Regions from separate parts of the Homo sapiens genome. Here region 2 is linked to region 1. The links are contacts of gene promoters, found by promoter capture Hi-C in blood cells and fetal thymus (Javierre and others, 2016). All regions are on one chromosome and are shown on one strand. The core of a region is centred on a gene start or on the middle of the fragment in contact, and the rest is flanking DNA. Distances in the headings are between cores, read along the strand shown. Region 1 holds the start of ACAD9 (acyl-CoA dehydrogenase family member 9). Region 2 overlaps COPG1 (coat protein complex I subunit gamma 1).

Region 1 (3,283 bases), core at 93-2,592:
TGGTTTCCTTAGAAGATAAAATGAAATACAAAGGAAAGAGCAAGAAATGTGTTTATTCCTATTTTGTAGATGAATGCACTGAGGCACAGGGAGGTGCAGCCGTCAGCTCCAAGGTCACAAGACTAAGTGTTGAAGCCAGCTCTCTCTTCTGCTGCACAGTACTCTACAGTTTAAGAAGACTCTCCATGCACCGTTTATCTCACTGGGGCTCTACAACACATCTGTGAAGGAGACACAACACTATCTCCATTTTAAGGCTGAAAGAACTGAGTCTTGGCCGGGCGCGGTGGCTCACCCCTGTAATCCCAGCACTGTGGGAGGCCGAGGTGGGCGGATCACCCGAGGTCAGTTCTAGACCAGCTTGGCCAACATGGTGAAACCCCGTCTCTGCTAAAAATACAAAAAAAAAAAAAGCCGGGCAGGCGCCTGTAATCCCAGCTACTCCGGAGGCTGAGGCAGGAGAATCGCTTGAACCCAGGAGGGAGGTTGCAGTGAGCACTCCAGCCTGGGCGACAAGAGCGCGACTCTGTCTCAAAAAAAACAACTGAGTTTCAAAGTCAACGAGCCAAGACCAAACCCAAGTCTTCCAACTCTAAGAAGACAATGAGTGTTTTATAACCAAACTGTTACTATTGGCTGGGTTGTGCCACCCTTGGGAAGCATCTTGGAGCCAGATTTCTGAGGAACCTCAATGGCAGGGAGAGGCGCTGGGCTCACCTGGGGAAGGAAGCCCCAGGGCGCTGGAAGGTGACTGAGGAGGGACATGGTGTAAGCTGTTTAGGAATCAGAGAGGAAGCCCCGCACATTTCCAGACCAGACCAGCTGAGATGAAGGCTGCTTTGTTAATTACCTAGCCTAGAGTTTTCCGAATTCCCCTGACAAAATTTAGCTGGAACACGTCACCACCACATTTCCAAGGGTCCCCCGTCTTGGAAATGTCTCACCCTTTCTCTGGGAAGGTTTTCCTGGAACTCAGGAATCCGGAGTGTTAACACGCCTCGGCCGCAGGGTGTATCTCTCTGGCAGGTTTGGGGAATCTCACAAAGTTCAACACCAGTCTTGCAGCTGAGGGTGAAAAGCGGGAGCCAGACAGCAAGGGTTCGCCCAGGGCTCGCGTTACCTTCTTGATTTTGCCTAGGAAAAGCTCTTTGGCGAAAGCTCGTACAGGCGGGCTGGTGCGCAGTAGCCGCCGGTTCGCGGTAGAGACCACCAGACCCCGGCAGGCACGAGCCGCAGCCGTGGTGCGCAGGAAGAGCCCGCAGCCGCTCATGCTGCCCGATGTTCCCCAGCCTCAGCCTCAGTCTCCCCTTCTTAGCGCCGCAGGGACACACACACGTCTGATGACGTTACTGGCCCGCGACAACGTGCAGTACTCACTGCGCTTGCGCGGTCCCCCGCAGCAGGGGATGGAGAGGCCAGAAGGGCGGGAAGGCTACCACCTGCCGCGCCCAAGGCCTTAGTCACGTGCACCTGGCTGGCCCGCGCCGCCTGATGACGTCACACGCCTACGCTTCCCGCCGGCCCCACTGCGCTTGCGCGGCCAAAGGAGCTGGCCGGAGGAAATTGTAGGCCCTGGGCCGCGGGCATCTCGGCGGGTATAATCTCTGGCCGTCGTGACGGCGGTGACGGACCTGTTTTTCACATACCAGCGGTTGTTTCCATAAATGCCAGCCATGGGAAATCTCCCTGTGTACAGAAACCTAAAGGCCGGCTCAGCTGCCTCCACTTGTCTCTTTTGTCACTTGTGGCCACGAGGCCGTGGTAAAACTTGAGAAAAGCAAAAGAATGAGGGAAATGCGCTGTATTGGGGTCTCTGCAGGGGCACGGTAAGGGTAAGGGTCCATTTTTAACTGGATGGTGGATTCCTGAGATACTGTTTTGTTCCTAGTTGACATGTATGTTACATATATTTTTTGGAAAAGGAAAAGAAAGTGGGTGTTCAGTCACAGAGCGGTCTGGATACAACTGAGTCACCTCTGTCCTGGGAAACACTAACTTAAAAGGCAGGCGGAGGAAGAGAAACTACAGAGAGAGCTGAGAAGAGATGGGAACTATTGGATGGGATGGGACAGGCCAGGCTGTAACCGCCCAAGGTTACAGCCCGCTGACTAGACAGCTGATTTATCAAGACGGAAATTGCAATAGAGAGAGAGTAATTCACGCAGAGCCGGGTGTGTTGGAAAGGGAGTTTTATTAGCCAAATCGGTCTCCCCAAAAACGGATCGGAATTTTTAAGGATAATTTGGCGAGTAGAAGCTCGGGAAGTGGGAGGTGCATGATTGGTCGGGTTGGAGATGGACTGATAGGGGGCCGAAGTGAGTTTTTCTTGCTGTCTTCTGTTCCTGAATGGGATTGCAGAACTAGTTGAGCCAGATTACCAGTCTGGGTGTTGGTAGGTTTTACAACAGTGATGTTATTCCCAGGAACAATTTGGGGGACGTTCAGACTCTTGCAACCAAAGGCTGTATGGCCTCTAAACTGTAATTTCTAATCTTATAGCTAATTTGTTAGTCCTCCAAAGGCCAACTGGTCCCAGGCAAGAAGAGGTTGTTTTTTGTTGTTGTTGTTGTTGTTTTCCCGGGAAAGGGCTATTTTTGTTTTGAAGTTAAACTATAAACTCATTCCTTCCCAAGGTTAGTTCAGCCTACGCTCAGGAATGAACAAGGACAGCTTGGAGGTTAGAAGCAAGATGGAGTTGGTTAGGTCAGATCTCTTTCATTGTCTCGGTTATAATTTTGCAGTGGCGGTTTCAAGGCCAGGCCATAGGGGCCCACGTAGGAGGCAGGGCATGCCTGGCACCTCACAGCCCAACAGTGCTCTGAACGTGGCACATGGGCCCTCTACAGATCTTCAGCCAGCTCCTCCAGGAAGAATGCCACTCTGCTTTTTCACCCAGACCGGTAATCTGGCTCAACAAGTTTTGCAATCCCACCTAGGAACAGAAGACAGCAAGAAAAACTCACTTCAACCCCCTATCATTCCATCTCCAACCCAACCAGTCAGCACTCCCCACTTCCCGAGCTCCTACTCGCCAAATTATCCTTAAAAACTCCGATCCCTGTTTTGGGGGAGACTTGCTTGTTCCCCGACTGTAGCATTGACCACAGTGTTGGGAAATGCCTCCAGCTTCCATTGTGTCAACTCCTTGAGAAGAAAAAGAAATCCCTTTCATCTCAGCAAGCTAAGCTCAGCACCAAAAAAGATTACATTGCTAACACAACATCAAGAAAAAAGAGCTCAAAACTCTGCAAGGCGTAGAGTCTAAACTGCAAAATATTTGCAG
Region 2 (2,858 bases), core at 59-2,558, 370 kb before region 1:
ATATTACACCCTACCTTAATGGCCTGATGCCTGGTTATTTCTCTGTAAATTCTGGGGCTACAGAGGCCATGTCTATCTTTTTTGTTGCTATATCCCCAGAGCTACACACAGGGACTGACAGACAATATTTTCTAACTGAACCTACAAATCAATGTATGACCCCCACAACCTTAAACTGTGGCAGGAAGAAATAAGAGAACTGAGCCCCAGTTCTTAAGGGCAGTGATTACACTTTAGTCACATCTGTCCCTGAATTGCTTAGCTTAAAGCAGACACCAGTCACTTAGTAAGCAGTATACCGCTTGTACTCTCTTGTTTATTTTTCTTGTGTTCTCTCTTTATACTCAAGAAAGTCTTTGGGAAAGTTCTAAGCTGGTTTGGTTGACTAAGAGAAATCAAGAAAAGGAAGCATTTGTGTCCAAGTCAAGGTCAGAGAATTAAAATAGAAACAGCACACCTGGAGGCTGCCATGGGGTGGGCAGTGGTAACAGGGAAGCTGCCACGGGGTGGGCAGCTGGCAATATGCAACCAAGTCTCACTGTCTGGTACACACAAGAAAAAAATGGTCTGTCAATGGAACCCATCAGAAGAGCCACCCACAACCCCATGACTTGCCTGCTGGTGACAATGATGACATCCTCTGCAATGCAAGACATCTCCTTGATGGTCAAGTAGCACATCCGACGGAGTGTGGGCTGGGAGATAGGTGGGAAAAGCCCTATCAGCCCGGGCTCACCAAGGGCCAGAGTTGGGAGAAGATACCTCCTGTCTCCACAAAGGCAGCCCACACTGACTGGTGGGGCCAGCTCTCTTTGGCCCTCCCACCACCTTGTTACAGCTGCCACCTCTCAAGGAAAGCTGGGTTGAGGCACTTACATCATTGGACTGAAAGAGCTTGGTCATGGCAAAGAAGGCCTCGGTCGCTTCCGTGGTCCCCAGGTGCTCCCCCTGTGTTAATCAAGAAAGAAGTCTCAGCTTGGGACAGAGGGTCAGACAGCAGTTCTTTCAGGATCAGCCCACACCAGATCCCCAGACCCTAAAGAGGCTCAAGGGCAACATATGAGACTTGGATGCTGAGGGGACCCAGAGCTGAGCTGTTGTCTACAGCCACACAGAGGCTGTCCAATAGCCTAAGAGTGATCATGATTTGTCCACTCCCCTCCAATCCCCCAGCACCATTCTCCCTACCCGCAAGCTTCACCCTGTTACCTGGTTTATGAGATAAAGAATCTTGGTGAGGATGTGGGCACATTTCCGAGGGTTGATGGGAGTTTCATTAAATACACGGGCCTAAGAAGAAATGACCAAAGATGTTACCTTCTAGCCTAGTTCATTTCCCTTCAAGTATATTCAATGTCTGAGAAGTCTCAGGGTAAACTGACTTGTCTAAACAGGGCTTTCTGGGTATGCAACAAGCTTATTTTCATAAGGAAAGGGTTTGTTTTTCTTTAATCAACTACTAATTATTCTTAGACTCTCGTGTAAATATTAGTTAGGGATGTGCTAACCTATTGACTAGCAGATACTTAGCAACCATCTGCTAACTGGAAACAGAAACAATGAACGACAACAATAAAGAAAGAAGCGGCTGGACGCAGTAGCTCACACCTGTAATCCTAGCACTTTGGGAGGCCGAGGCGGGTGGATCACCTGAGGTCAGTTCGAGACCAGCCTGGCCAACATGGTGAAACCCCGTCTGTACTAAAAATACAAAACTTAGCCAGGCATGGTGGTGGGCACCTGTAATCTCAGCTACTCGGGAGGCCGAGGCAGGAGAATTGCTGGAACCCAGGAGGCGGAGGTTGCAGCAAGCCAAGATCATGCCATTGCACTCCACCCCAGGCTGACACCAGCAAGTCTCCATCTCAAAAAAAAAAAGAGAAGTGGCCGGGCGCGGTGGCTCACGCTTATAATCCCAGCACTTTGGGAGGCCGAGGCGGGAGGATCAAGAGGTCAGGATTCACACCATTCTCCTGCCTGGCCAACATCGTGAAACCTCATCTCTACTAAAAATATAAAAATCAGCCAGGCATAGTGGCGTGCGCCTGTAGTCCCGGCTACTTGGGAGGCTGAGACAGAAAAATTGCTTGAACCCAGGAGGCAGAGGTTGCAGTTGAGCCGAGATCGTGCCACTGCACTCCAGCCTGAGCAACAGAGTGAGACGCCTTCTAAAAAAAAATACATATATATATATATATAAAAAATATATATAATAAAAATAAACAAGTCATGCAAAATCTCTACCTGCATAATGGCCACAGTCTAGCTTAGGTGATAGTTTTAAACCAGTTTCCTTAGCTTTGGAATTAACTTTAAATAGAGAAATTTTTTAAATGTTTAAATAGAGAGGCCAGGCGCGGTGGCTCAAGCCTGTAATCCCAGCACTTTGGGAGGCCGAGGCGGGTGGATCACGAGGTCAGGAGATCAAGACCGTCCTGGCTAACGCGGTGAAACCCCGTCTCTACTAAAAATACAAAAAATTAGCCGGGTGTGGTGGCGGGCGTCTGTAGTCCCAGCTACTTGGGAGGCTGAGGCAGGAGAATGGCGTGAACCTGGAAGGCGGAGCTTGCAGTGAGCCGAGATCACGCCACTGCACTCCAGCCTGAGCGACAGAGCAAGACTCTGTCTCAGAAAAAAAAAAAAAAAAAAAAAAAAAAAGAAGTAAGCATAACTAACTCTCTCCAGAAACAAAGTTTTCCTGTCTTCCAGAAAACTTCCAGGCACAAGTTTTCTCCCGTGTTGCTCTTTAAAACAACACTTTGAATGTGTTGGTATTTCAGTTGCATTGGTGGTGAATATTTATGATGGAAGCTAGAGGGGAGCAAATGTCACTTGCCTCCTGGAGTACCGCACTCTTC

The links. Contacts are between HindIII fragments. The CHiCAGO score rates a contact against its expected background, and 5 or more counts as called.
Region 2: a contact is called between a fragment that was not itself captured here and the fragment with the promoter of ACAD9 in region 1, in 3 of 17 cell types (naive CD8 T cells, non-activated CD4 T cells and naive CD4 T cells). The highest score is 5.9, in naive CD8 T cells.

What each region holds. Positions count from the first base shown.
Region 1 is chr3:128,877,679-128,880,961 of GRCh38, reverse strand. ACAD9 (acyl-CoA dehydrogenase family member 9) reads right to left here and starts at 1,342. Exons shown (of 18, transcript NM_014049.5): 1 at 1,121-1,342. The coding sequence starts at 1,270. ACAD9-DT (ACAD9 divergent transcript) reads left to right here and starts at 1,526. Exons shown (of 3, transcript NR_186174.1): 1 at 1,526-1,826. RefSeq lists enhancers at 1-767, 1,076-1,155, 768-1,620, 1,216-1,765, 1,621-2,472. The HindIII fragment of the contact is 10,907 bases long and covers 1-3,283 here.
Region 2 is chr3:129,250,713-129,253,570 of GRCh38, reverse strand. It overlaps COPG1 (coat protein complex I subunit gamma 1), which reads right to left. Exons shown (of 24, transcript NM_016128.4): 2 at 2,837-2,858; 3 at 1,210-1,290; 4 at 877-948; 5 at 616-695. Among named protein-coding and RNA genes, the nearest start is that of COPG1, 2.5 kb to the right of the region's middle. The HindIII fragment of the contact is 221 bases long and covers 1,198-1,418 here.